Regions from separate parts of the Homo sapiens genome. Here regions 1, 3, 4, 5 and 6 are each linked to region 2. Evidence: promoter capture Hi-C in 16 types of primary human blood cells and fetal thymus (Javierre and others, 2016). All regions are on one chromosome and are shown on one strand. The core of a region is centred on a gene start or on the middle of the fragment in contact, and the rest is flanking DNA. Distances in the headings are between cores, read along the strand shown. Region 1 has its middle 600 kb from the start of MIR5702. Region 2 holds the start of IRS1 (insulin receptor substrate 1). Region 3 has its middle 610 kb from the start of NYAP2. Region 4 has its middle 530 kb from the start of MIR5702. Region 5 overlaps LOC646736 (a long non-coding RNA gene). Region 6 has its middle 580 kb from the start of MIR5702.

The links. Contacts are between HindIII fragments. The CHiCAGO score rates a contact against its expected background, and 5 or more counts as called.
Region 1: a contact is called between a fragment that was not itself captured here and the fragment with the promoter of IRS1 in region 2, in 3 of 17 cell types (M2 macrophages, monocytes and M1 macrophages). The highest score is 5.8, in M2 macrophages.
Region 3: a fragment that was not itself captured here is called in contact with the fragment with the promoter of IRS1 in region 2 in 1 of 17 cell types (M2 macrophages); the score reaches 6.4 in M2 macrophages.
Region 4: a contact is called between a fragment that was not itself captured here and the fragment with the promoter of IRS1 in region 2, in 3 of 17 cell types (M2 macrophages, M0 macrophages and M1 macrophages). The highest score is 10.4, in M2 macrophages.
Region 5: a contact is called between a fragment that was not itself captured here and the fragment with the promoter of IRS1 in region 2, in 1 of 17 cell types (M1 macrophages). The highest score is 5.2, in M1 macrophages.
Region 6: a fragment that was not itself captured here is called in contact with the fragment with the promoter of IRS1 in region 2 in 1 of 17 cell types (M0 macrophages); the score reaches 5.4 in M0 macrophages.

What each region holds. Positions count from the first base shown.
Region 1 is chr2:226,054,312-226,058,061 of GRCh38, forward strand. No RefSeq gene overlaps it. Among named protein-coding and RNA genes, the nearest start is that of MIR5702, 600 kb to the right of the region's middle. The HindIII fragment of the contact is 953 bases long and covers 1,391-2,343 here.
Region 2 is chr2:226,797,647-226,801,205 of GRCh38, forward strand. It overlaps IRS1 (insulin receptor substrate 1), which reads right to left and starts at 2,174. Exons shown (of 2, transcript NM_005544.3): 1 at 1-2,174. The coding sequence starts at 1,092. It also overlaps a transcript of RHBDD1 not described here. RefSeq lists an enhancer at 1-262 and silencers at 993-1,042, 2,033-2,452, 2,473-2,542, 3,503-3,559. The HindIII fragment of the contact is 8,747 bases long and covers 1-3,559 here.
Region 3 is chr2:226,008,738-226,012,377 of GRCh38, forward strand. No RefSeq gene overlaps it. Among named protein-coding and RNA genes, the nearest start is that of NYAP2, 610 kb to the left of the region's middle. The HindIII fragment of the contact is 4,284 bases long and covers 1-3,640 here.
Region 4 is chr2:226,130,499-226,133,918 of GRCh38, forward strand. No RefSeq gene overlaps it. Among named protein-coding and RNA genes, the nearest start is that of MIR5702, 530 kb to the right of the region's middle. The HindIII fragment of the contact is 1,947 bases long and covers 1,193-3,139 here.
Region 5 is chr2:226,154,321-226,157,872 of GRCh38, forward strand. All of the region lies in intron 2 of LOC646736 (a long non-coding RNA gene), which reads left to right. Among named protein-coding and RNA genes, the nearest start is that of MIR5702, 500 kb to the right of the region's middle. The HindIII fragment of the contact is 3,048 bases long and covers 58-3,105 here.
Region 6 is chr2:226,072,886-226,076,579 of GRCh38, forward strand. No RefSeq gene overlaps it. Among named protein-coding and RNA genes, the nearest start is that of MIR5702, 580 kb to the right of the region's middle. The HindIII fragment of the contact is 3,937 bases long and covers 374-3,694 here.

The DNA of each region.
Region 1 (3,750 bases), core at 617-3,116, 740 kb before region 2:
TATGACTCTTAGATGTGTAGAGGAAAGAAGAGAAAAAATGCTTTATATAAATTAAGAGAATCTGTTTAAAATAAAGTAATTGTTACCATGCAGAAGGTGGTTTTAAATAATAGGCAGATGCACAAACTTTATTTTTACTGTAAAAGACAAAGTCAATTATAAAACGCTGGTATAAATCCAAAGCCCTAAGGACTTGTTTGCTAATGTAATATTGGAATCCTAAAATAGAAAGAAAGTCCATTGGGAAACTTTACTGCCAGAGACTTAGCCTCTGAAAATCAACTGATTGTAAGAGAACTTATGGTTCCAACTGAATAGAAGTAGTCAAAAACTGAGCCCAGGACCAGCTACATAATTTGCAAGGCCCAGTGCAAGACGAAAATGCTGAGCCCTTGTTCACAAATTAAAAATTTCAAGATGATGACAGCAGAGCATTAAACTAAAGCCCAGTGCAGGGCCCTGCGTGAGACTACACATCCGTGACATGAGTCCTGCCAAGGCCTTTCAAGCCCAGAGCTCTCTAGAATCAGATATCATGATTTATTTGATACCTTAGGTGCCAATGGAAAATTTAAGTTTCCATTATAAAGACCTTAAGAATGATATTGATGAAAAGATTTAATAGCTGACTTATAACCATTTGTTTGTGTATGTTATGGAAGAATCAAGTATCTACATCCTTGGTAGGCCTAAAGATGAAAAAGAAGGCATTAAGGAAATTTTTACAAGTTCTTGACCATGGCACATAATCTTTTTCACTACGACCTTTTCCAACTATGGACAGCAATTGCCTAGCAAGATGCAGGTCAATGCTAAAGTCAGTAGTTAGGAAGAGGGTACTCTGTAGAAGTAAGCCTTAAAAAGTGTTTGACAACAAGATGGTATAAAATATTAAGCCGTGGACATGAAGGTTTCATGGTAGGACTCCTAGAGGATTCTGAAACCAAGCAAAGTTAAAAAAAAAAAAAAAAAGAAAGAAAGGAATGATTAAATCTGGGGAGAAAGCTAGCATTTGCTTGAGTTGTTAATTGGTAAGCATGAGAGTTAATAACAAGTCATCGTCTTCCCTTGATTTTAGGGCCTTGTTTCAGAAGTACCGTGTGTTAAGTATTAATAGACAAGGGATCTCATTTCAACCCAAAATTTTATAGGCATATATTCATGGATATACACACATCCACATGCATATATGTTAACCTATGTGGCCACAGCCAAGGCAGTTACCATCTGTGGCAGTGTACATTTGTTGGAAGATGAGATTTTCAGTTAGAAATATTATAATTTTATCACATCACATCTACATTTACAAAAGTAAATATGATAATGAAAAAATCTTCTTGAATTAGAATGGATTCAAATAACCCCCATAATTTCTAAAATTTAAGATATAAGCTTCTTTCATCCAAATAATCTGCTTTTGTTATACAGAATTATGTGGAATGGATTTGGCTGACTTACTTGGGTACATCTTCATTTTTTTCCCCAAAGTTTACAAATAAGAGTTAATAAGAAAAAAACTCTAATGTACTTACAGTGATTTTTAAAAATGTACTCCACTCTTCTCATCCACAGCCTATATTTTCCTGATTTAGAATCTAAATTGGATTTGAGAAATAGTCATACTTATATGGAGAGAAGTAGTAATTTTATATTTATTCACTATAGTACACCAGGAACTATGCTTAACACTCTCCATCCATGGTATTTTTTTAATCTTCAAAATATTTCTGAGATGGGTAAAATTTCCGTTTTACAAATAAGGAAACAGAGGTCCACAGATATTATAAAACCTGCCCAAAGTCTCACAGCTACTACATAATTTAAGAAAAATATTTGGCTGTAAAAGAGACCAAAAAATACTTAAACAAATGAGGGTTGACATTTTTCTTTTGTAACAAGAAGTCTGGAAACAGGTATTTAAGACTTGGGAACATCAACTGGAAAGCCCTATGATTCTTTTGGTTGTTAAATTATTGTTTCAAGATGGCTGCTCCAACCCTAGTGGCAAGTTAGTAGTCCAGGCTGGAAGGAGGCAGAAGGGAAGTGCCAATGGCTGAATAGGCTCTTAAGCACTGTTTTTTCAGAAATCCAAGTCAACAAGTGCAAGGTGGATTTTATTCACCCATTATGCAAATAAGTCTAAGAAATGCAAGTTTGTTTGTTTGCATGTTTGTTTATTTTCTAAATGGGGCTTATTGCTGCCCCTTTCAAAATCAAATTTATTAGAAAGGAGAAAAGTAGCTACTGGGTAGAAAACCATCAGTCTGGCAACTGCTTGATGCCCTTTCCTCTTGGAATTTTTCTACCTAGGAAGGATTCCCAGCCCAGAAGTGGTGATAAGGAAGCTTCCTTCTTCTTCAATCTTTACCATCTCTTCCATTTGGGAAAAGGAGATGGGAATCACATTTGTTCCCAGTGCTGTGGGTGCTTCCAAAGAAAAACAATGCCTTCTTTCTCTTCTCTCTCTTTTTTTATTTTTCTGCTCACAAAAGGAACAAGCTCATGAAACTGGATGTTAAATTGAACCAAGCCAACAATAGAAGGGATAAGGCAGGCATGCTTATAAGTAATTCAAAGTAGGTGACCGAGAGCAGTGAGAATATAAAATGTATATCTTCTATACGAAATACATAAGATGATCAAGGCAATGATGATCAGAACAGATCTTTCCTTTTCAAAGAAATTATTGGGTAATTGGCAGAGTGCTGTGAGTCCATCTTCCAACCCAACTCTTTGCCCCTCATTACAAGACATAAGCTTCAATATAGCCAGGAGTTTGGTGGTATATAGTGGACGTGTGCCTGACAAAAGCCGAAAGAGTCTAAAGGCAAGAATCTACAGCTATTAGTTGTAAACTGTAGGACATAAAAAGAGTGCTCAGCTATGTTTGAGTTAGCTACAATTCTACAATAATTCAGGAGTTTTTCTTATTGTCTACAGATGGACCATGCAAGGACAGAGACACCTGACATTCTCTAAAAAGACCATCTTAAAGAATGATAGGACCAACAGTGAGACATGATGTAAAAGGACTGTCAGAAACCAGAGGCTAATGGGAGTCCAGAGGACGAGATAAAGTTGCAACACCTGTATCATAGAAAGCACAGTTGACTACTCCAGTGGAAATGCTGAGAAACTCAGGAAAGCTCCCATGATAGGTGGAGACAGTTTTAAAAATCTGCCAAGACCTCAGAGCATGAAGCATGTTCTCATTATCAGTTACATAAGAACCTTCTTTATCTCTTGTCCCTCCCCTTAACTCCTCCCCCACTGTTAATCTTGAAGCCATTCACAACAGCAGCCAAGGAGTGGTGAGGAGGTGAGCAATAAAGAGAGAAGGTGCTTAGCTTTTGGAAAAGGCAGGACTACAGGCTACCAGCTCAGGATAGGTGAAGTGAAAATCTTTCCCTTCAATAAATATTGGATTATAAATTAACATGTTATATTGAGCAATTGCAATTAGGTTGGTGCAAAAATAATTGCATTTTTGCCATTAAAACTAATAGCAGTCTCAATACTAAATTAAGACTGTTTGCCACTGAAAGAAGCCATAGGATCTTTGATTACATAAGATAAGAGTGAGCGTAAGAGGCATGCACTTGCCTGAGTTTGTAATCCCTGAATTTCCATCAGGGGCAGAGGAAGAGCTTCTTTACAATGAAGAGATTTAAAGGGAGCAGTGAGAGACAACAATGTACTTGCACTGAATTACCCTCGGGGAACCTTGCTTGTTCCCCATGCTGGTTACAC
Region 2 (3,559 bases), core at 924-3,423:
CCGGGCGCTGCCCCGATGCCGGTGGGCGTGGGTTCTGTTGGTGCTGGGACTCACAGGGCTGCCGTCCACCGAGGCTGGGCGGGACATGGTGCCTTCGCCGTCACTGGAGGCGCGGACACGGAAGGAGCCTGGCTTCCCGCCCACCATGCTGGCCGGGGAGGTGGCGGTGATGCTCTCAGTGCGTGATCGGCGGGTCAGCCCCACCTGGCTGGGCGGGGGATTGTTGAGATGGTGCCGGCGCAGGGGGACGCTGATGGGGTTAGAGCAGTTGGACGAGGACTGGCTCTTGCTGCGAGGGCGGAACTCATCACTCATGGCCCGCATGGCCTCCAGGATGGTCTCGTGCATGTTCTGGGCCACCACAGAGTCATCCACCTGCATCCAGAACTCCCCGGGCCCCGTCACGGCAGAACGGCCCACCTCGATGAAGAAGAAGTTTTCCGAGTGGCCACAGCGCCTGATGTTCATCAGCTGCAGCACCACGGCCGCTGCCTCCGAGTTCAGCTTCACGAAGCTGATGGTCTTGCTGGTCAGGCAAAGGCGGTAGATACCAATCAGGTTCTTTGTCTGACCCAGGCCCTTGGGCTTCAGGATCACTTGCCAGACCTCTTTGAATGCGGGTCCTGGGGGCACGTCACCGTAGCTCAAGTCCTCCCCAGCCTCACCAAGGCCGGAGCTGCCGCTGCAGCTGCCCCCACCACCTCCCGCCCCGAGGGCCGCAGCTCCGTCGTGGTGGCCCTTAGCACGGTTGTGCAGCTGTAGGAGAGCCTGGTACCAGCTGTCTTGCTCGGCCTCGCTGTCCGCCGCGATGGCAAAGTGCTCGTCCCGGGTGTAGAGAGCCACCAGGTGCTTGTTCTTGGAGTCAGCCCGCTTGTTGATGTTGAAGCAGCTCTCAAGGGGGATCGAGCGTTTGGGGGCGCTCGACTTGTGCCGCCACTTCTTCTCGTTCTCGTAGTACTCGAGGCGCGCCGGGCCCCCAGCCTCGCTGGCCGCGCGCAGTACGAAGAAGCGTTTGTGCATGCTCTTGGGTTTGCGCAGGTAGCCCACCTTGCGCACGTCCGAGAAGCCATCGCTCTCCGGAGGGCTCGCCATGCTGCCACCGCCACCACCAACGCTGAGCAGAGGGAGGCTCCGAAAAACAACCGGGTGGGGGGCGGAGGCTCCTCGCCGCGGCCCGGCACATGCAAACAGGGCTGGAGGCAGCAGAAACCCCGACTCTGAAATCCACGCCGCCCCCCGCGCCGGGGAGGGGCAGCTGAAGGAGGACGCAGCTGCTGAGCCCAGGAGAGAGCCCGACCGGAGTTTTCGGGCGCTTCACGCCCGGCGGGGAGGCAGTGCGTCCGGGGTGAGGGCAGCCCCGATCCTCCGAGAGCCAAGTCTCCTCTCAGCCGCCGCCGCCACCAGGAAGGAGCGAAGATGCATCTCTCGTCGCCCCGGCTGGAGTCCGGCACAGGGAGGCGACAGTCGGGGGTCCCTGCGGTGCCCCTCCAGGAGCGCGCGCGCGCGCGCGCCTTCCCTCCTGAGTTCCCCTCTGGAAGCAGCGATTCCCGAGGCAAATTAAATATCCTTGGGCAGGGGGAGGCGGGTTGCCAAGTCCCAACGTTGCACGGGGTTCTCCCTCCTCCTTCGCCTCCTCCCACCCCCCAACCGTCCCAGCCGCCACCAGCCGCCCAAATACCAGCTCAGTCGCAGAGACCGCGGCGCTGCGGCTGTTGCTGTTGCTGCTGCTGCTGCTGCTGCTGCTGCCGCCGCCCGCGGGCGCGTCCTCTGCAGCCCCCATCCGGGCCCATCTCGGCGGGTGGAGAAAGTGGCTTTTCCATGCGAAACGATACCGGGCAGCCACTGCAGCTGGGGACCGGCCGGAGGGACAGACTCATCCCTGCCCCTCGCTCCAGGCGGCTGGGGAGGAGGGGAGGGGACAAGGGCGAGAGGGGATGGGGGAGGTTTGGGAAGGGTTCGGGGAAGACGCCTGTTCCTCGGGAGGCGCTGCCGCTGCAGTTACTTCTCCCCTCCTCCCTCCTCCTCCTCCTCCTCGGAGAGTTGCCGAGAGCCCCAACCAAAACAAGCGGCGGCGTCTGGCTCTGCGCGCCGGCCCCCTCCGACCGCGCCGCCGTCTCACTCGGAGGAGAAAAACACGTGACGGAGCCTCCGCGCTCGGCAGCCGGGCAGCCGCCGCCGGGAGGCTCCCGCCCGGGTCTCTACATTCCGGGCCGAGCCCGCCCCGCGCCCGCCCCTCTCCGCCCCCCAGCCGTGCTGCAGCGGCGCCCGCGCCGACCCCGGCGCAGCGCTAGGACAGCGCCCCTGCGCGGCCGCCAGCTCCGGCGCAGCGCCTCCCTACACGCGCGCCAACCGGGGCGCCCCCGGCCCGCAGGAATCCCCGCGGCGGGCGCAGGCGGGGGTGTTTGGGTGGCTACCCGAAAGCACGAGGGGAGTCTGGGAAAACGGGAGGGGGCGAGCTCGGGAAGACGCAGGAGTGAGGGTGGGGGGCCACGGGGGGGCACTGCGGCTACAGAGCCCCGAGTGGGAGGCCGGGGGGAGGCGGGGGCGCCGGAGCTGGGCTGCCTCTTACCTATCAGGTAAGACTGACCCACGGGAGGGAGGTTTCTAGTCAAGGCTGTTTCCCCCAGGAAATTTAAAAGCTAGATTTCGGCTTCAGGGCGATAGGCCATGGTGAGGGGATCTGTATTTTTTAAGGTTTTTCTAAAGGACTTCTGGGCCAGCCTTCCACCTTGGGATCCCCAGATTTGCTGCCGTGAGGTACCTGGAAGGAACAGAGGGACGCCCAAGGGCAGTGACTGGGGGCAGTTATGGTCACTACAAAAGGAGAACAGGGATCCCCAGGAAGTGTCTCACGTCCGGCGCTGTGGAATTAGTTGCTGATCAAGTAGGGAGAAAATGTAAATATCACCTTTTCTCCTGCTCCCCTTGCCCATCCGTGTGACGGGGGGACTCACACCTAAGGCTGAGGGCATGGGGGAGGGGAAATGAGAGGTCCCTTATCATATTCCGAAGTCTATCCGTGACTTTAAAAAGCTGTTAGGGACCTTCAGAGGGTTCATAAGGCCAAAACCCTACTGTGCAAATATTGGCTGAAATGTTTGTTTCACACACAGCTCCCACACCCATTGAACCACCCTATAAGTTTTTAACCTTGACCACAAGGATAACAGGGAGAAAACAAGGATGGTGCCAGCTCAACTGTACAGGAAAATGGTTACTTCATGAGTGGACCAGATCAGCAGCCTGGGTCTACTTGAAGCGCCCCTTTCAGGGTCACCTTGCGGTATCAGTCTCCCCACAAACAAACGCTCCCCAGAGTTTTTTTATTTTTTAAGCCGACCTATAAACAAGCAGTTTGTCCCTGCTTGCTCGCCTGGCACTAAGGACCCACAGAGATGTCACTCGGTTTAATGCTGTCTCATTTTGATGCCTGGCCCGTTTGGGGTTGCCGCCCCTTTACTACGCCGGGACCCTCCTCGGCCTCAGGCTCCCAGGCACTGCAGGATGCTGGCTGGGCACTCAGCAGTCGAGGCGCTGGGCATGCTCAGTGGCTGGGACC
Region 3 (3,640 bases), core at 525-3,024, 790 kb before region 2:
ATTGTGAGTCTTGAATACAGTCTTCCTTACCACTTTAATGAGTGTCAGAATATTATTTTCTTTAACAGAAGGCTTCCTTGAAGGGGCTATCATGACACTAAGTCATGAAGGATAAGGAAGAGCAGACGGAGGAGGGGCAGGTGGTGGGGAAGAGCAGTGAATAACATTCTAGGGTGAGGACAGACATTTGGAAGGGCAGTTGGCTGGGACAGTCTGTGGCTGGAGAATAAGATGCAACTGACATAACGGTGTGGGATGAGGCTGGAGACGTTGGCCAGGGGCTGCTCATGCATGAAGGGCCTTGTGTGCCATGCCAGGGAGTTTGAATTTACAGTAAACAACATTTTACCCACTGCAGGATTTTTTTTTTTTTTTTTTTTTGAGATGAAATCTCACTCTGTCACCCAGGCTGGAGTGCAGTGGCATGATCTCGGCTCACTGCAACCTCCGCCTCCCGGTTCAAGTGATTCTTGTGCCTCAGCCTCTTGAGTACCTGGGACTACAGGTGCGCACCATGCCCACCTAATTTTTTATATTTTTAGTAGAGACGGGGTTTCATCATGTTGGCCAGGCTGGTCTCGAACTTCTGACCTCAAGTGATCTGTCCACCTCCGCCTTCCAAAGTGCTGTGATTACAGGAGTGAGCCACCGTGCCCGGCCCCCACTGCAGGATTTTAAGCAGAAATGTGACACTGTTAGATTTGTATTGTATTGTATTGTATTTATTTATTTAATTATTTTTGAGACAGAGTCTCGCTCTGTCACCCAGGCTTGAGGAGTGCAGTGGCACAATCTCAGCTCACTTCAACTTCTACCTCCCAGGTTCAAGTGATTCTCCTGCATCAGCCTCCTGAGTAGCTGGGATTACAGGCATGTGCCACCATGACTGGCTAATTTTTGTATTTTTATTAGAGATGGAGTTTCACCATGTTGGCCAGGCTGGTCTCAAACTCCTTGGTTCAAGTGATCCTCCCGCCTCAGACTCCCAAAGGGCTTACAGTTGTGAGCCACCAGGCATGGCTAGGTTTGCATTTTAGAGAGACCTTTGTAGCCACTATGCTGAACATGCAATAAGGGCTGTATGTCTGGTGGGCTACGTGCCTCATGAGGAGGCTCAAAGGCTAGTGAGTAGTGAGTATCTGAAGTGGGAGCAGATGGTGGAGGAGATGGGTGGGACTGGATCCATTCACCTGGGTATCTATGAGAACATGAGTATTGAAGTAAGGAGTAGAGGAAAGAAATTGTGATTCCTGGGTTTCCCTGACTGGAGTGTCTGAAAGGGTGGTGGCTCATTTATTTAAATAGAACATATAAGAGGAGGAGAGAGTTTTAGGGAAAACACGATGATTTCATTTTTTTCATTAAATCCCATTATGAGAAATTTAGAGAATGGAAATTGCTAAACGGCTGTTCTGTCTTTTGGAATTAGCTGTGTAAGACCAAATTACAGTAATTCATAACTATAATCATTCTAAATCCACTTGATTTTAATATGTTTCAAATATTTTTTACTGTGTAATTTACAAGAAAATTGTTCTATATTAAAATGGTCATTTTCTGTAATTGCATATTACCAAATCAGGATAGACTATGAACAGAAATGCATTTGGGCAAATTTGCAAGGCAGTATTAGCTAGAATTGCTGAAGTAGGTTATTGCTGAGCTCTCCTGGGTAGGATAGTACAGAAGATACCAGGGATGTCTGGTTTTTTGATTGTTCATTTACACTGATAAACACAGTGAATTTAAATCATCATTATTGATGAACCTCTCTCTTTTTTCTCTCTCATTGAGATATTAAATGTAAATACTTCATAGATGACCTGATTCAAAAGAATGTTTTCAAGTTGTCTTTGACAACGACAATTTTAACTGGAAAGCACAGTGCAGAAGAGGTTTCCAAAAAAAAACTTGCTCAAATATAGATAGAAAATGCATGTCGAAATAAGATTTACTAAGCCACTGGAAAATGGTTTAAAATATATGTAAATATCAACTTTGTTTTTGCAAATACCATTGGTTAGAATATGTGAACAGATGATTATTTTCAAACGCTCCCCACAAAAAGACAATGCAGACAACAATACTGAATGGAAACATGCATACATCCTCATTTTCATCTTAAGGAGCTAAATAAGCAATATTCTCATATCCCTTAAAAACATTCAGCAACATGAGCCATATACCAATTTTATAATAAAACTGTAAGATTGTTAATATATCAGGTGATAAAATTATTCACGAAGTGTATATTGCTGGTGAAACCAGTCTTCAGAAATATGTTTATATAGATATGCAAATAGGAAAAAAATAAGTAAATATTAGTTGTTGGAACTGTACCAAGTATAAGTGGAAAGAGGCTAAATGTGTGAAGGCAAACTATCAAACACAGTATAAACTCCTAGTGTTAATTTACTTGTAAGAAAATGTTGTATTTATACCCAGGAAAATGGGCATATAGGGAAAAAATCATTGGGCCACTCTGCAGTATCACTTTGGATGAAAGAAAATACTTTATTATAAGTCAACGGAATAGAATCATTACAATATCATCTTGGGTTTTACATTCTAATCCTAGAATTATGCAGAACAGCAATAGGAAGTTTTCTTTCCCAGTAGTAGTAGAAAGTGTGAAAGATGGTAATTTCTCATCTTCTGTAAAAATGATTTTTAAAAATTAAAAAATAATTTCAAGGGGCTTTTTATTTTTGTCTACAGGTTGAAGTAGTTTAGTTTCTTCCATCTGATAAAATTGAGAATATTTACATTCATTTTCAAATTTTAAAAAACTTTGTATTATAAATAAATATATAATAACAAATGTCCCGGAACCTCAGAATATGTACTAGCATCCAACTAATATTAAATTTGATAGTATATATATATGCATTTAAAAAATTATTCACAAAGTAGCATATGACCTATTGGAGGATCAGATTTAACCTAATCTTCTGACATTTTCCCCAAGCAACTTGTAGACTGGATTAGATTTTTTTTTTTGAAAAAACTGAAGGGTGACTCAAATTATTACTAGCTTTTTAAAATAATGGAATAATGAAAAATACATTCTACAGGGCACAGCATTAAGAAAAGTCAAGTAGTACAGGAAGTAACCGCAGCATTTACTAACATGCTCAGCCAAGAACATAATTGCCAAAATAACCTTGAAAAGGGGCGAAAGTACTGAATACTGCAGTGGTGATTATGCTGATTTCAATTACTCTGGTTTAAATGGAATGAAATAAGGCTCTAACTCCGTTAATTAACAAGCCTATCCACAGGTGATCTCTAAATGCTTTGCGTATAACTCCTATTAATGCAGAAAACGTACATGCCTAGAAATGGCACGTCTGCATATTAAACCCAATTATGCAGTTTACAAGAGAACTGGCGTTCTTTTACTTTTCCACATGAAAATTATAGTGAAGAGTAGAGAGAGAAAGAGGAAAGAGTGCGGCAGAGGGAATGTTGCATACATTAATGAATAATGATCCAGAGGCAGTGCCTGTCTTGAATTAGTTCATTTTTAAGAAGAACAAAGGGGTCATCCTGCTGCGTACGTTTTCAGCAGGGATGCCTGACTGGCTTATTTTTGATCTGCACCCATGATGTGGTTTCAATTAGCATTAGCACTTACAAA
Region 4 (3,420 bases), core at 916-3,415, 670 kb before region 2:
ATCCTTCTAGCCACTTTCTCAATCTTCTCTTCAGTTTTACTTCTTAAATATGTATCTATCTCCATTTCCTTCTAGCTATATCTTTTTTATTTAAAAAAATCCCATTATTTCAATATGTACAATAGACATTTTGATTCAGTTACAATGTTGTGTCATTTCTCTGTTATAAGACAGAATCAAAGAGTGCTACAAAACTGGATTATTTATATAACCAAACATAATCACTTCCATCCCCAATATTTTATTTAATTTTAATTATTTCCATGAAATGTAAACTGTATTATAGAATTACTTGTCATAATAAAATATGCCAAGAATCTAACCTTTTGTTGATTCAAGATGATTATAAGAGATGGAATTTATTTTGTAATACTTTAATACAGAAATCCTACATGTATTTACTGAAAACATTTTGATAAATAAAATAAGAAAATGAATGCAGCACTCAGCACACACCAAAATAGAGCATGGCCAGGGAAGGAAGAAATAAAAGAAAGACAAAATAATCTATGGAGAAAAAAATTGAAGTATTAGTGCTATCCCAAGGAGACTAGGTTTTCTAAATTTCTGATATCCTCATTGATCCCAGTCTTAAGCAAGCTATATATGTATGAAGTCTATATAGAGAGATGTGTTTGTGTGTAATGTTCTGGCACATATTTTCATCGTATTCTTGTACTCTACACTATCAAATGGGTAAGCTGAGGCATGGCATAGTTAAATGATAACATCTTAGAATCTGTGACAGATTTGGAATTCAATGGCAGATTTGGTCCTGTATCCAAACCTACTTTCTGTGACCTCATATGTTCCCTTTGAATCAGGCCTAAGAATAGTCTTGACACCACAGAGAGCACCCTCCCTGGCCATGTGATAACCAGGGCAAGGAAAAGCCAGGCTCACCTTGAGAGGAATGTGGCTCTGCACCAGGTATTTCAGGGTCACTCAGCAGGTTTATTTTTGCTATTCTGCTGGCCTTTCCTCCCTGGCCATGGCCCAGAACACTCCAGGCTCTGTCATCGTTTTGCACCGCACAGAGCAGCCCATTGGCCTTAATACCTGAAGCCACAGCTGTATTTCAGGACCTGTTATAATCAACCTCAGGCTTCCTAAGGCATTGCTTTTCCTCTCTGCCTTCTACAAAAGGTGACAGATGGCACTATTACATCACATTCAGCTTTTGGGGGAAGTAAGCTTAATAAACTATGCAATAATCTCTATCAGAGCCCAAGAAAACAATGGGCCAGGGAGTCAGAGATCAGCTGCCCAATTTCTCAAAAAGGAAATAGATTGATTCCAGTAAATCTAGCCCTGCGAAGACAAGGAAACGTGGTATTCTTTATCACCCCCATTCAGCAACACCAGCAATTTGAGCTTTGCATTTTCCTATTATGTTACCTGGAAAGTCACTAGTAAATACAGATGGATATTAAAATAGTTTGTGTTCAGGATAACATAAAGTAATGTAATAATATGAACAAGAGTAGATTAAATGTAAATGTAATAAAATCACAGTGCCAACACTCTGTCATAAGACACGGAAAGGAGCACAACATACTTGACATGTTTTCAGGGTAGGCATTGCAAATCCTCAAATTACAAAATTTTTCTGTATTATGATGTGTCTTGGATAATTAGAGAAAACATAATTTGAGATCAGAAAACTTGAATTTTAATCCTGGCTTTGCCACTAGTTAGTGTTAACCTAAATAACAGACAGAGAGAGACTCTCTAAAACAGAATGATATTTATTCAGTAATGGTTATTGCAATGAAAATACCCATTCCATAGTAAACTGTATGTGTATTCAAGGAGGTAAAGGAAGACAAAGTTTTTTCTTAAAAAAAAAGTTACGTAGCTCTTTTGAGAAAATTATCCTTGGCTATAAGGATCAGCAACAAGTATGATGTCAGTTTGATGTTGGACAGGCAATTGTTGGGCAAATGACCTGGTGAGTTTTGTTTTTTTTGTTTGTGTGTTTGTAAGGTTGCAATGGCCTTTGTGCAAGGTTGTGGTGTTTGCAGAGTCTTTTGTGGTAGCCTTGTTATCAGGCATTCACGCATGAGAAACCTTTTTCATGGCCTTCCTTGGCCCTATTTGTCTGTTTTTAACACAAGTGATTCCATTTGCATTCACTTTCACATTAGCTATCTTCTCTTTGGCAAATCACTTATCTTTCTTGGTACTTCAGTATCTTTGCTACAGAATGGGAAGAAAGAGTTCTCACTAGATGATCTACAAGATCCCTTCCAATTCTGAATTTTTTTATTCATATGTAACCCACCAAGGCTTCACCATCCTGCAAATATAAATGAGGTCATGTATATGCTGACATTGCAGTTACGTAAACTTATTAGCCTCCATTTGCTGAACTGCGGGCCCTCAGCACCCATGCTATTTTCTGCAAAGTTAGCCCCAGCTATTTCTGGCTAAGGTGGCATAGCAAGTGTTGGTTGGGTTCTATCTTGATCCTCTGAAGTTTCTTTTACTGTTTCTGTGTGTCCACCCCCAACTTCTGAGAGCTTTGTTTCTAAGGTGTAACACCTGCAGTTTTCTTCAGAGTACTATATCCTTGGGCTAGCTGAGCTCTTTTGCCTGCTCACCAAATGCCCGGAGGCCTTGAGACAATGGCTGACTTAAATTAGTGAGGCAGTTTCAGAGCCCAACTCCCTTGTTGCAAAAAAGCACAAACTCTGTGGTGTCAGGAGCCTTCTGTGAGGGTCCTCATCCTCATCCTGAAGACCCTCACAGAACCTCACCTGAGATCCTTTTCGCCCTGTTTTTCCTATTCTCTGGGATGTTTCATGGATGCTTTGGAAAAATCCCCCTTTCTCTTCTCAGCTGGCATTCTCCTGGATGTTTTCTGTCTGCAAGCCACTTGAGGGCTGTGCCTTGTGGGGTCATGGCTGGAGGTGACCTCACTGGGCACACTGCTACTCTACCAAGGATGTGGCCTTCCAGGGCATCCCCAGACGGCAAATATGCCAGATATCAAGGGGCACTGCCTCCTCTCCAGCCCTCTTTGTACCACTTGAATCATGGGGAGCTCTTGTCAGAAATGGGATGTGTTTTTCTCCAGTTGTGTTCTGTTTTGCTATCTACACTCAGAGCTGAGCTGCTGGTTCTCTGCATTTCATAAAGCTTCCTGTGTAATTCAGATCTCTCTCTTTAGTGTGCTCCTATTAGTGGTCAAGCCTAGTCACTGAGAGGAGGCAGGAAAAAAGAAACATCATCCTCGTTTCTCCATCTTCCCATCTCTGTCCTCTACATGCTACGTTTTGCAGGTAGATTCCTGAAGAGCTACTGGCATCACGTTCAATCTAATTTCTTGTTGCTAACATTTGAAATCATCTTCTAGATGTAGATAGATCAGAACTCAAAATCTAGCACTTCATGGTCTCTCTCTAATGCTGTCTTATC
Region 5 (3,552 bases), core at 332-2,831, 640 kb before region 2:
TATTGTTACTTTTTCTTGTTGTCCTCCTTAAGACTTTGAGAGGATTCTTCGGTTACAAGCTTACTTTACATGTTTTCTATTTTTCTGTATGGGTCATTCAACTTATACAGAATTTGACACTGTGAATTTTCCTCTGAATACTTCAGACAGATTTTCTGGGTTTTAATATGTGCTATTTCCTTTATCATAAATAACTTGTTCTTTTTATTACTAGTCACCTCAATTTGTACACTCCCATTCCCCCCCCCCCAACCGCCAAATAATAAAATGTTTCCCTGATTAAAAAAAAAACAACAACAACAAATTTCCAAGGCACTTATGGCTGGGGTGCCAGCCTTTATATAGAAACTCAGAAACCACCAATAACTAGGCATAACTAGGAAAAGAAAATTAATCACCACAGAGCTGAAACTCCCTGACTAGACAATTTTCTAACACTGTTGATTTTCCTCCTAAGTCACTTTTCCTATTTTAGCACGGTAAGCAGCTTTTCACAAGGGATCTGTAGTGTTGTATTCAAACAAGCACGGCTGTATGAAACACTTCCTCTCTAGCTGGAACGTGTCAATCATTTCATGTAATTAATTTCCTAATGATCCTGAAACATTTGCTTTCTACCTGAATGATCTCATTCTGGTACCAGGCAATTTTCTGGAGCATTTTAAATGTAAAGTTTGTAGGTAAACCCAAGTAAATACATTGTAGACAACTTGCAGAGGAAAAACTCAGGATCAAACCTTTTCCCAATGAAGTGTATAATATTTTCTTTGACGGAAGCAAAGTGATATATAGCGTGCCACAACTAAACTGTAAAAATACCACGACCTTTCATCAGTCTCAATTATTAGGAGTAATAGCCTCAGGCTGAAACTACTTGAGAATCCCTGATGATATTTAAGACAGAAAAACTACAGAATCTAATGCAAAGTCCACGGCCAAACTGTGCTGGGATAGGGTTGCCTAGTGGTCCATTCATCATTTTTTTTTTCTGCTTACACTGGGGCTGACATCTACTTATTAAGTCTTTCCCTGGGTCATTTCACACTGCTGGAGAGGCAAAGTAGAAATCCCATCAGGAGGCCTGCATTTCCAGAGGGAAGGGAGGGATTTTATTTTTGGTGCCATCATTATCTTATTAGGCAAAAGGAAAACTGTTGGTCCTGATAGATCCCTTCCTGTTCTTTCAAAAGTCATATCCAGTGTAGATGAGTGCCCCAATGCACAGGAAAGTGCTAGGAGAAATAAAACAAAAAACTGCTGTCCTGTGAAATAGTAATATTTTTCAATAGCTAGGGACCACGCCTTGCTGATGAGGGAAGCCAGGCTGAACTGAGCATTGTAAACAGACTGTGACAATCTACCGGAAGAAAAGAAGGGATGGGAGGAATCAGTAAACAAGATTCAAGGAATGGGTAAATCTTTCATTAAATACTATGGACTAAACCTCCTCAGTGGAGAGACTAGCAATATTTCACTGAAACAGGCAGTGACAATATGCAAGCAGATTGCTTTTTATCCAGGATGGAATTCAGAAACCTTTGTTTTCCCTGTTCTCTGACATGTGGCACTTTACTTAACTAGGAATTTATGAAACAAACTGCAGCAGTATTTGCAACACCTCCAACTGTGTCACCAACGGAAATCATGTATGTCATATCACATATCACATTTCAATTGTAGGAGATATTATGGAATACCATTTTCATGGACCAATACTTCTAAAATATAATGTTCTTGGCCCTGACACTAACTCTTATTATATAATAAAGAAACACATTTTGTTCATGCCAAGTGAAGGCAAAACAAAAAAAAGAAGGAAAAAAGAGAAACAGACATTACTATATCACTTTTTAATTATTTTATAACTATACTTCAATATAATTTATTTCCTTTAGGATCATGTGCATTTTATTTTATGCATTTGAAAAACTTTTTTTTTCCTCAGAAGGAGGTCTATAGGCTTTACCATACTGCAAAGTCCATAGCACAAAGAGCTTAAGAATGTTTGCCTTATTCTAAATTTATATTCATTAGGCAAAATCACTCCCCTCATTCCTTCAGGGTTTGTGTGTGTGTGATCTCAGTACACAAGTATAGACACATTCAGATCACTGTGATGAACCCAGTCAATTTCAAAGATGGTTTTTCCTATTACCAAAAGTCTAGATGCAACAATGGCATCTAAATACAATGACATTTAAAATCATCTTAAGATGTGTTTTTAAATATGTCAAATATTATTATGACATATTATGTTTTTAAATATGTCTAAATATATAAGTTAGTCAAGGATGGAGGCTCAAAATAGACCTAAGACCCTTCCTAGGCCTCCTATCAGTCTGTAGAAACCTTGGCTCAGGAGAGAAAGGTTAAGAACTGGATTTTACTTCCCTTATAGTAATCTCTGAGTTACTGGTGAGCAATCCCACCACACGCTCACCCCAGAATAAATATCCTAGGTCATGAACAACTAGATGTGTAATGAGATTCAACAGGGACAGTCTGTGAGGGGTGGGCAGTCACGAGGGGTGAATGGAAGGTGGTAGTCTGCATCATTGCAGCACAGTCTTTTTTTTTTTTTCATGGAAACCTCTGCACAAACCAGGTAGGCATTTACAAAGCAAGAGGCAGCTTGAAACACTTGCCAGGCCCAGAGAGTGCAACACCGTCATACAGCAATGCTGGTCAAGGGATATCTTCCTTTCACCTTTATTTTTGCCCTCAGTTCCGCCACACTCCTGCTGCTAGGGTGGATCAGAACCCAGTCTCAGTATGATGGGGAGAGAGAGAGATGGAGGTAATGAGGACCACATCTCCATTCCTGGCTTCTTGTTTGAGGCAGGCTCCAACTGGAGGAGTTGAGAAAATTTAACTTTAATCAAGTTTGGAGTTTTGCATATTAAATGCATTTGGACATTCTAATTTCTGAACGAAGATTCTGTTTGGTGACTTAAGAATCCATGGTACTTATTTGCATAGTCATCTCATGCCCCAAGATATAGCTCAGGCAGAGAAAGAAATCCCTTCAATGAATTTTAAAGAGACAGAATACAAAATTAAGTGGCATTATGGTTACACTCCACGAATCCTATACATTCCTAATGAAGCTTATACTGATTTTTGTCTTTTTTCTCAGCTGTACAAAACTTCTTCTGTGTTTAGTTTGCTTTATCCCAGATCCCCAGTCAGTTCCTAGTGTTCATTCCCAGGTTTGTTCTTGTCCAGAAAGCCTCCTCAGTTCATTCCCTTGCAATATAAACCCTGCCTACCCATCTGGTCTGGCTCAAACCCATTGCTTCAGCTATGTTTTATTTAAATGCACAGTCCACATTGATTCCTTTCTAATTTCTATTGCTTTTTGCAGTACCACTTATTTACAATTGCCATATTCCATTTTTATACAATTTATTTTTTTCTTTTTCAACTTTTTGGTTCAGGGGGGTATGTGTGTAGGTTTGTTGCATGGGTAAATTGCATGTTGCTGAGGTTTGGTATACAAATTATTTCATCACTCATGTTGTGAACACAGTAACTGACAGGCAGTTTTTTGAC
Region 6 (3,694 bases), core at 1,092-3,591, 720 kb before region 2:
TCTTTATTTTGGCCCCAGTCATGGGTGTTATGAAGTCACCATTAATCTGTTTCAAGAATTCTTTTAAGAAAAGATATTTTATTTTAAAATAGAAGTGTGTTTCATAGAAGCCTTCAATCATAAATTATAAATTTTACAGAAAACAGAATCTGCAGTGAGACCAATACTAAACTGCTCTTAAGGTCACTCTTCCACTTGAGCCAACAGTCTTTGGAATCAAACATGATATTGTTTGTGATAGGAAACATGACACTTCCTAAGGAAAATTTCTGATGACCAACCTAATGATTTGCATGCAAGTGATAGTCAATAACTTGACAAAATAAGTATATAGATGGAATGCAGAGAAGAGATACAGAAAGCATAGTAGCAAAGCTTTGATTTTACTTGTAAAGGGTAAAATTAAAGCATTATAAATGTCCTTCCCTCAACAGTAACCAAATATGCTGAACAATAGCTTCCAACTTTGGCGTATTACCAGACCTCCATGAAAAATAGTCTCTGAGCTCGATCTGAGAATAAAAAAAGAAAAATAAACAAGAATTGGAAACAATTGAAAAGTTATTTATGAGCATTCACAGATGACATTTACTAGAATATGAGAGGAGTTAATAAAGTTTGGCCTTGTCTATGTATTACATAGAACTTCAATCTGGGATTTTTGCATAAATAAGAAAATAAAAGTTGAATATGATTAGTTGACAAGCTGATAATGAGAAAATGTTCTGACACATTTATAGCTTGTCCAAAACACATTGATCGAGGATGAACACATTTGGACATACTGTAATTTAGGGGTACAGCTATTGCATCACTATTCACTTTGGCCTCGGTTCAATGTAAGGCTATTACAAATTAAAGTTTGTCTCTGCTATCAAGGTGATGTGTTATCCTGAGCAGTAATGTGAGTCTCAAAAGTAGCTTACAGGTTGTCTTGAAGAGGTCTTTCCCTGACATTGCCAATGTGAGTCACAAGTCACAGAAGTTTAAAACTGGGCCTGTGATACAGAAAGGGAAAGCAGAAAGTGGTGGTGAAAACTTGACAGATTGCTGCTTTTAGAAATCAGCAGAGATTGGATTAGACCTGAAATCCTGGTACAAAGAACAGGATTTTAAGATCAGAAGAAATTCTGGCCCAGTTCAAAACCATTGATGTGGGAGAAATTGTTGGAAGTTGTATAAATTTTGGGAGCATCATGGGAAGTTAGGGAATCTACATCAGAAAATAGAGCATGTCTAGCCAGAGAAGAGGGCCCAGATGAGAGGGAAGTTAGCAGCAATTAGAAAACATGAGTAAATATTGAAGAAACTGGGGCTAAATAAAGAGGTTTATGACAGGATTTACAAATGTCTGAAAAGCTGAATTGTAAGCAAAGAGCCAAAAACATAAAAACTAATATTCCCTGTTTTGAGAGTTTTTCTGGTTGGACCCAAAGGGCAGACCCAGGAGTAAAGCAAGATATTTATAGGGAGATATAATTTAGTTAAAACAAGAAAGGCCTTTCTAAGAATTTGGTTCTCTAAAATCGAGTGGTGTACTTCAGGAGAAACTATATGAATAGTTTACAGTCTCAGGGAGAGTGGTAAAGCAGATCTAGATCATGTGGGTTGGGGAGAAGGGCGAGGGACAGTCAAGCATCAGAGCACGTTGAATTTCGTGACTTCTAAGGTCTTTCCAATCCTTTGAGTTAGCAAATGACCTGGCTTGATCCGAATCCAAACATGAGGCCATGCCTACCTCATGTGTCACTATTCTGTGAACCATTGTTTTCTCTAGATACTTTGGCAATGTAGATTAAATACAGCTTTCATTTGATTCACATATTTACCTAAAATATGTATATATAATGCTATTGATAGTGACAGGAGGCAGCCAAATGCATAGGCAGATAGGGGTGGGTACCCAGTAAAACCCCACCTCTAGTCCAAAGATGTTTTAAAGCCTGAAAGCCAAGCCAAAACTTAAATACTCAGAACAGATTAAGAATTTGTCTTCCTGTTTGGCATGCTTTCCTCTGATTGATCTCCCCTCTTCACCTATTTTACATATACCTACCCTTTCCTAATTGGTTTTCTATACTGTCATTCCCACCTTTGAGTGGTGTCTTTGCTTTAAATTTTTGTGCACACTCACAAACCGTCAGCATGCTCTACCCGTCCTGTCCTATAAAGACCACAGGCTCAGTCAGTAGAGGAGAATATGGCCTAACTTCAGGAAAGGAGATGGCTTGACTTCAGGGAAGGAACAATCTGACTCTGGGGAAGACAACCTGCGCTTCCCATCCTCTCTCCACCAACCCTCTACACTGAGAACCATTTTTACTGCTCAAGAAAATTCTCCACCTTCACCATCCTTCAACCATCCATGTGACCTCATTCTTCTTAGATGCTGGACAAGAGCTCAAGACCCACTGAGTGTGGGTACCCAGAAAGGCTGTCACACTGGCCCTTTGCTATCACTGGTAGAGGGCAGCTACCTCTCATGATGAGGCAAGGGGCCAAATGAGCTGCTAACACACCGCCGTCCAAGGACAGTAGAACTAAAGGAGCACTGTAACACCCCCTCTGGGACTTTGGAGTCACAGGTACCCTCACCTGGACACCACCACGTTCCCCTCAAGGCGACATGCCTGGTCTGACCACAGGCCCTGCATGGAGCTTGCTCCTGTGTCAGTGCCTGGAGCAGCCAGCTGGGTCCCGCATTTGCTCTCTCACATGCTCCCTCCCATAAAGGAGCACAGCAGGCCAAGCAGAGAGGGGCACTCTTGCTCTGAGTCCAGTGAGGGGGCCAAGAAAAATTCTGCATCACTCTAACAATTCATAATTTGGACATCTTTTTTCTACAGGTAGAAATCTTTATAGAAATCTCAGCAGGAGATAGGTATAACCTAATTCATCAGCTATTTTTATCACATGATACAAGTGTCAAGTTAATAAAATGTAGAATTTGAATCTTATGGATGGCATAGGGTTTCCATTTCATTAGAATGTTTCCATTTAAATTCCTAAATAATCCTTAAAATAGCTGGTTACTGGGTTTTGAATTGAGCCGTGGCTTGGACGTTGAGTTGCATTCCAGTATCATACAATTTCCCTTCCCTGTATCTCCTGCCTAATCCAGCATAGGAGGTTCTTATGAGGCTGGTAGGGAAGAAGAGATTTGGCTTACTTAGGAAGCTACTAGTAGCATCCAATCTACATGGATTGCCTTCCTGTGCTTTAAACCACGGTAATCCACATGCCATCTGGCCTACACTTGTAAGGGAATAGTATTCTTTTGCCATTCTAGGCTGTGCATGGCAAAAGTCTTAAATTGTGTTGATTCATTTCAGCCTCTGTTTCTACCTTTTTGATATTCCACTCCGGCCCTTATGTGATTGCTTACTTTTGACTTCCTTTACTGATTCAGGTTCTTCATCCTTTTAACTATGGATATTTTTCAGGGTCAGAATCTGCACTTGGTCTTGGGTACTCTTGCTCCTGGCTGCTCATCTACATTATCAACACCTGGTTTGAGTCACTATCCTATTTGACCAGTCCCTGGATCTACTTCTTGGTTTACATTAAATACTCATCAGGATGGACATACAGTGGTCTCCTTCCAAATTATTATAAGTGAAGCTCAGAGATTCAGGTGTTTCTAAATGCTGAATAATAACAGATCATGTGTTTAACTTGGAATTCTTACAATAAG